Linked DNA regions of Homo sapiens: region 1 is linked to region 2. Evidence: promoter capture Hi-C in human tissues and cell types (Jung and others, 2019). All regions are on one chromosome and are shown on one strand. The core of a region is centred on a gene start or on the middle of the fragment in contact, and the rest is flanking DNA. Distances in the headings are between cores, read along the strand shown.

Region 1 (3,422 bases), core at 626-3,125, 570 kb before region 2:
GAGACAGAAAAGAGTAAGAAGTCTTCACTGGGAACACGGTTGTCTTTGAATTTTTGGCTTTATTTATTTATTTTTGAGACAGAGTCTTGCTCTGTTGTCCAGGCTGGAGTGCAGTGGCTCGATCTCAGCTCACTACAACCTCCACCTCCTGGGCTCAAGCAATCCTCCTGCCTCAGCCTGCTGAGTAGCTGGGACTATAGGCACACACTGCCAGGTGTGGTTTATTTTTGTATTTCTTTGTAGAGATGAGGTTTCACTGGGTTGCCCAAGCTGGTCTTGAACTCCTGGGCTCAAGCAGTCTACCCACTTTGACTTCCCAAAGTGCTGGGATTACAAGCATGAGCCGCTGTGCCTGGCCCCCACACTTTCTAAAAGTAAACTTTTTACTGAAGAACAACATACATGCATAAAAGTACCTAAATCGGAAGGGATGTGTGTTTATCACATGCACACATCCGGGTACCCAGAACAAGAAGCAATATTCTGTGCACATCAGAACCCCCCCAGCAACCCTTGTAACTCCTTTGAGTCATGATATCATGATAGTTACTCTTTTTTTTTTTTTTTTTTTGAGACAGTGTCTTGCTGTGTCACCCAGGCAGGGTGGAGTGCAATGGTGCGATCTCAGCTTACCTCAACCTCTGCCTCTCGGGTTCAAGCGATTCTCTTGCCTCGGTCTCCCCAAGTAGCTGGGATTATAAGCACATGCTACCATGCCCAGCTAATTTTTTGGGTTTTTTTGAGACAGAGTCTGGTTCTGTTGCCCAGGCTGGAGTGCAGTGGTATTATCTCTGCTCGCTGCAACCTCCGCCTCCCGGGTTCAAGCGATCCTCCTGCCTCAAGCCTCCCAAGCAGCTGGGATTACAGACATGCACCACCATGCCCAGCTGATTTTTGTGTTTTTAGTGGAGACGGGGTTTCACCATGTTGGCCAGGCTGGTCTCAAACTCCTGACTTCAAGTGACCCACCCGCCTTGGCCTCCCAAAGTGCTGGGATTACAGGCATGAGCCACCACGCCCAGCCTGTATTTTTAGCAGAGACAGAGTTTCACCATGTTGGCCATGCTAGTCTTGAACTCCTGACCTCAAATGATCTGCCTGCCTCAGCCTCCCAAAGTGCTGGGATTACAAGTGTGAGCTACTGCGCCCAGCCTACTCTTGACTTTTAATATCAGAGATGAGTTTTTATTTTGGGAATTTTTGATATAATATGATCCAGATTGGGGAGAAAATGCTACTGTGGTTCATTGTTCATAATTTGCTTTTCGAGTGTTGAAATCCTGAGTATTTTTTTTTTCTGTATGTAGATGTTCAAGTTCACTCATCTAAGACTCCTTACCCGGAGTGGTGTTTGCATAATGTGATGGTGATGATGATAACAAAAAAACAACAATATTAATTTTAAACCATGAATTGAGGAGGGACAAACTACTTAACCTCTCTGCCTCAGCTTCCTCTGTACAATAGTAATAATAATTCTATCTTCACAGAGTTGAGGTGAGAATTATAATGAAACTGTGAAGCACTTAGATGGTACCTACTACCTAGCAAGGACTCAATTGTGTGTGTGTGTTTGTGTGTCTGTGTATGTGTGCGTGTGTGTGTAATAAATGAGCCCAACACAGGCAAGGGGGAGATGTGTTATTAGGTCTTCATATATCGCACATTTTTATTTTACTATTGCGTGATCACACACAGATTGCAGAAGGCTCCACTTTGTAGATAAAAGTTCACTAGGTCATTGGGTAAAGAGGCATTTGCTTTCCCAGGAAACTAAAGAATTATGTAGGGTCTGCTTAGAGGAGAAAAAGCATGAGGAGGGGAAACCACAGTGTTTGAGTTGACATCAATTTAGTTTCCAGATTTGATCAGTCTGTAGAAAGTGCTTTGTGTTTGTTTATTTAAACAATACTTATGGGTCACACATACACACAAGTAACCTAGTGAAATCTGAATAAGGGATGGAGGAGGAGGGAGAGAAAAAAATAAAAAATAAGTAAATTTTAAAAAAACCTGAATAAGGTCAGAGGATTGTATCAATGTCAATTTCCTGGTTGTGCTATGGTACCATAGTTATATAAGGTGTTAGAGAAAACTGGGTGAAGAGTATATGAGATTTCTCTGTACTGTTTCTTACAACTGCTTGTGAATCTATGATAATCTCAAAATAGTTTAAAAAATAAGTTCTAGTGTTCTATATAGCACTGTAGGACGACTAGAGTTAACAATAATATGCTATATGCTTTCAAGTAGCTAAAAGAGAGGATATTGAATGTTTTCAACAAAAAGAAAAGAGTTTGAGGTGATAAATATGCTAATTACCTTGATCTGATCACTATACATTGTATGTTTTGAAACATTACTATGTACCGCATAAATATGTACAATTATTATATGTCAAGTTAAAATTTTAGGCCAGGCACAGTGGCTCACACCTGTAATCCCAGCACTTTGGGAGGCCAGGGTGGGCGGATCACCTGAGGTCAGGAGTTCAAGATCAGCCTGGTCAACATGGCAAAACTCCGTCTCTACTAAAAATACAAAAATTAGCTGGGCGCGTATTCCCAGCTACTCAGGAGGCTGAGGCAGGAGAATCTCTTGAACCCAGGAAGTCGAGGTTGCAGTGAGCTGAGATCGCACCATTGCACTCCATCCTGGGCAACCAAGAATGAAACTCCATCTCAAAAAGAAAAATACAGAGATTTAAAAAATACTTATGGAGGAGCTACATGCTTTGAGTCCAGGGCTGCCTTAGGCTCTGGGGATACAGTGGAGAACCAGCAAGACACATTAACGCCCTCAGAGAAGATGAAGTAGGGGTGAGAGGGGGCCTTGAGTTTGCTTTAAAAGTGTACTTTTTAAGGTATTGCATTAAATCATTTGAAAAGATTCCTTGAATATAGAAATGATTATCCAAAAAGTCTCCACGTTCTCAAGGAAGTATAACCAATCGACATTCATAGGATACCCATATACACACTAAATTTAGTAAGTAGCAGTCCTTCAGGGTTGGGATTAAGTAAAAGAAATATTGTCCTAATGGTGAGGACTGTTAAGTGTTAGAATGGAACCAAAGAATAGGAAAAATGACATCCTGTGCTGAAAGCTTTAAAGAGGCTGAATTCACATCGGTCTTTGTAGGTTTAGATGTGTTTCTGTCTGAAAAAGGAATAGATAATCCCTTATATTTTTATAATCCTATGAAGTTCTTGGGTGTTTGTTTGTTTGTTTTTTGAGACAGAGTCTCATTCTGTTGCCCAGGCTGGAGTGCAATGGTGCGGTCTTGGTTTACTGCAACCTCCGCCTCCCGAGTTCAAGCGATTCTCCTGCCTCAGCCTCCCAAGTAGCTGGGATTACAGGTGCCTACCACCACGCCCGGCTAATTTCTGTATCTTTAGTAGAGACTGGGCTTCATTATGTTG
Region 2 (3,885 bases), core at 551-3,050:
AGGCTCTGCCGGTTCCTGCTCCCTGGGGAGGTAATTGCCAAAAGGCCAGGACTGCTGGTGTACGTGCACTGTGATGATGGTGACAGCGGGAGGGTGAGGAGGGCCAGTTATTTCACCCGCTTAATCAGTAGCGAGAGGTACGGGATTTCTGTCCACCCGGTCCCTTTCCTTCCCTCCCACGGCGGCCCCTTGGGGGTTTCCAGCTTTGGGCCTAGAAGCTTACTTAGGGCCGCTCGAGGCGCAGGCCTGGAAATCCTTAAAAGTACTTAAAATGAACTTTAAAAAGCATTGTCCTAAACCCGCCTGCTTCCCAGCCATCTCAGGCCCGCGCTCTCCTCGCCCCTGCAGGGCGCGAGCCCCACCTGAGTCTGGGTGAGGCCCAGAGAGGCCGCCAGCTCGGCTCGCTCCGGCAAGGCCAAGTATTGAGTCTTTTGGAAACGCCGCTGAAGAGCCGCCAGCTGGAAACTGGAGTAGATGGTGCGGGGTTTCCGGACTTTCTTTGGCTTCCCGTTCACTATCCGAATTTCAGGCTCAAGGTCCTCCTTCTCTGCAACGATAAAGAATCGTAAGAACAGCGCAACCCAGGGGTCCTGGAGTTCCCGCCCTCCTAGAGGGCCCGGCGGGGGGGACTTGGCTTGAGCAAAGAGGTGGGTGCACTGAACTGTGGCGCCACGGGCAGGCGCAACTTCGCAGCGTGCGATCGGAGCCGCCACCGACCCCGGGAGCTGTACCCTCCAGGGAAGGGGGAGACAAGTGCACACCCAAGAGAAAGAAGCTGGTGGCAAGGAGATGCCCTTATGAGGCAGGCAGAGCACGCCCACTTGGCTCTTGAGGCCACCAGGTCCTACCAAAGGAGAGAGGGACGTAACCGGCGACCTGCGGCAGATTGGAGGCTGGGGAGGGTAAAGGGCACAAGCGGGCGGTGAGCAGGCAGCGTGAAAATCCAGAGCTTTCGAAGGCCCCCCGCCCCAAACACGTTTACCCATCCATCCCATTAACTAGACCGACTCGGCACTCTTGACTTCAGCGTTATGCATACCAGGCTCGTTGTTGGCTGGGGACGAACTGGTTCCATAGGGAGCGTAGGAGGTGTAGGCGGCGGTGTAGCCCAGGTCATAGCTGCTCTTGGCGGAGTAAGGGACGTTGTTGAGGCCGCTGGCTTGGTACTGGTAGGAACCCATGTGCGCGTAGGGCGAGCCCCCGCCGCCGCCGCCGCCCGCCGGGTGCTGCTGGTTGGTGTAGTAGCTGCTGTCGGTGGCGGTGGACACCGGAAGGGTGGGCGACTCCTGGGGCTTGTGGAGGCTGCTGCTGCTGCTGCTGTTGCCACCCGGGCCGGCGCCGCCGCCGCTCGGGGGCTGCTGGTGCTGGTGGTACGTGCTGGAGGCGGCGATCTGGGTCGAGTGCATATCAGCCACTAGACTGTCAAAGACTCCAGTCATCCTGGCCCGAGACGGGAAAGAGCAGAGGTGGCGGGCGTGCGGGGGAAGCCAGGCGCCTCCTCTGTCTCTCCCGGTCCCCTCCAGCAGCCAATGTAATTACGGGGGTGGTGGTGGGGAAACAAGAAAGGAGGCAACCGTCTAGGCGCCTCCTCCTCCGGGGGAGGCGATCACCGTGCGCTGCTCGGGACAGCTGCCTCTGGTCGCATCCTCTTTCGGCCTCTGGGCCCGCTCGGCTCCTTGCCCAGCGCGAGCGCGGGCTCTGGCGGGGGGCGGGCAGTGGAGGGGGCAGGGGTGGCTGGGCCGGGTCGGGGCTCTGGGAGGCGGGAGCAGGTGAGCGGCCCCGAGCGGCTTTACGATTGTCTGCCAGGCGGGCTCCTGAAGTGTGGGCATTTAACACTCGTCACGTGAGCGCTGGCGACGTCACCTAGCAACAGCCAATCAGAAGCAAACGGCCGCGGAGCTCCGGGAACGCCCGGCCAAGGGGCGGGCGTCACATGGTGGGCGCTGTGGCTGCGGCTGCGGCTGCAGCGGCCCCAGGTGCAAACAGACTGCCGCCGAATGTGAGCAGCGAGGCGAGGGGTCGAGGTAGCGAGGAGTCAGGGTGGCCCGCAGCAGGAAGACAGAAGGCGTGGAGACAGACTGGCGTTTTGCCTCAGAGGAAGAAGTGGGGTCCCCTCTCCCATTCTGTGAGCAAGTGCCAGTTCCAGTGATTCGTACTTTCATGTCCGAGGTCAGTTTTCAAACACATTAAAGTACATCGGTGCCCAGAGTCCAGCCAGCTCTATCTTCACTTTTCCTCGAAGTGTCTGGCATTTATTCTTGTTAGCCACTCGGCACTTGACATAATCAATTGATTTAATTATCCACAAACCACGTGTAATGCTCGCTTCTTAACCAATCCGCAGGGATATTAGGACAATTAATCATATAATATTGAAACGGGTTTTCCTTGTTGCTTCAAAGAGAAGCTACATAAACTTAAAGGTATTATTGCTAATAGTATATTTGAAACCACTTTCCCTGGTACTTTCCCGACACGCGAGACTCTGAGTAATTATATACGTTTGATAAGTAAATGACACCCTGAAAGCCATCCCGAGGACTTCCTCCTTCGGGTGGAAAGGTTCACCAGTTGTCCTTGAAAATTCGATGCTCTTGCGAAAAAGGAAATAGGATAATAGGTGAGATTATAGATTTATCAAGTAGATACTAGATTTATCACTTCTCTGTAAATTTACAACAAATATAAAAAGTTTTATCTGGTTTGTTGAATTTAATCCTGTTTTACAGTTTTGCATTTTAGGACCCTGTTCTACCCTATCATTGCAATTTTTTTCTTTTCCCTCTGTTTTTTAAAAAATCGGAAATGGTGACTTCCTCTGTCTCTATAACCTTGTAGTTGGAAACCTTGGCCCGACGGTGATGGACTGCACGACTTGCTGGACTCCCAAGTCCGAAGTTCCTGCGGCAGCGCTTGCTTTGTGGCGCCACCTGGTGGGCAGTGTGCGAGGTTGCGGGGGGCGGGGTAGACGGTCTAATCACGCCCAGGCGCCAGCCTCTGAAACCCCCCAAAAGAACAAAATAGTAATTAAAAGCCACAAAATTGTGCTAGTGCGCACCATCTGAAGCACCCTTTCCTAAAGACATAACATGTCGCTGAAAGAACTTGTTAAAACAACTGTCTGATAGAAAACAAGTTGATACCTTCAAAAATATGATCTTTGGTCTTCTTCCCCATAAAAAGCAAGTGTGTAATTAAAACTCCAGCATTCACACAGAGAAATAATGAGATAGGTAATGCGCCTTTAAGTCTACCTGGATTTAGTTCCCAGCTTTTTTTTGGTTAAGGAAGGCCCCTAGATGGAAAGCGCCAGCTTATGAGAAACGTTGGAGGTGGAGCTCACCTCCACCCACCTGCATTGCTTTATGCGGTTCTCTGCCTACTTTGTGGGCCTCAGCTGCAAAACCAACCTCTTGATATTGAAACATGATTGCCTTTTGGTGTTTTTTTGTTTGTTTTTGTTTTTTTGAGACGGAGTCTCACTCTGTCACCCAGGCTGGAGTGCAGTGGCGCCATCTTGGCTCACTGCAACCTCCACCTCCTGGGTTCAAGCGATTCTCCTGCCTCAGCCTCGTAAGTAGCTGGGATTACAGGCGCGCGCCACCACTCCCGGCTAATTTTCGTATTTTTAGTAGAGATGGGGTTTCACCATGTTGGTCAGGCTGGTCTCGAATTCCTGACCTCGTGATCTGCCCGCCTTTTGGTGTTTTGACTTCAAATTCCAACTCTTTCTGTCACCACAGTGGTAGCTGCTTTGATCTAATGTAGAAAAAAAATTCCCTGAAAAAGACAATTTTAAAAATCCAACCGCCTGCTGGGCACGGTGGCTCACACCTGTAATCCCAGCACTTTGGGAGGCCAAGGCGGGCAAATCACCTGAGGTCA

What was found. Contacts are between HindIII fragments. The study calls those that stand out against the background at their distance.
Region 1: a fragment that was not itself captured here is called in contact with the fragment with the promoter of DLX2 in region 2 in 1 of the 25 tissues and cell types used here (lymphoblastoid cells).

Annotation. Positions count from the first base shown.
Region 1 is chr2:171,535,582-171,539,003 of GRCh38, forward strand. All of the region lies in intron 1 of CYBRD1 (cytochrome b reductase 1), which reads left to right. Among named protein-coding and RNA genes, the nearest start is that of CYBRD1, 15 kb to the left of the region's middle. The HindIII fragment of the contact is 4,986 bases long and covers 1-3,422 here.
Region 2 is chr2:172,101,100-172,104,984 of GRCh38, forward strand. DLX2 (distal-less homeobox 2) reads right to left here and starts at 1,801. Exons shown (of 3, transcript NM_004405.4): 1 at 1,040-1,801; 2 at 363-547. The coding sequence starts at 1,439. It overlaps DLX2-DT (DLX2 divergent transcript), which reads left to right and starts at 1,907. Exons shown (of 5, transcript NR_126376.1): 1 at 1,907-2,169; 2 at 2,839-2,933. RefSeq lists a silencer at 1,603-1,802. The HindIII fragment of the contact is 12,259 bases long and covers 1-3,885 here.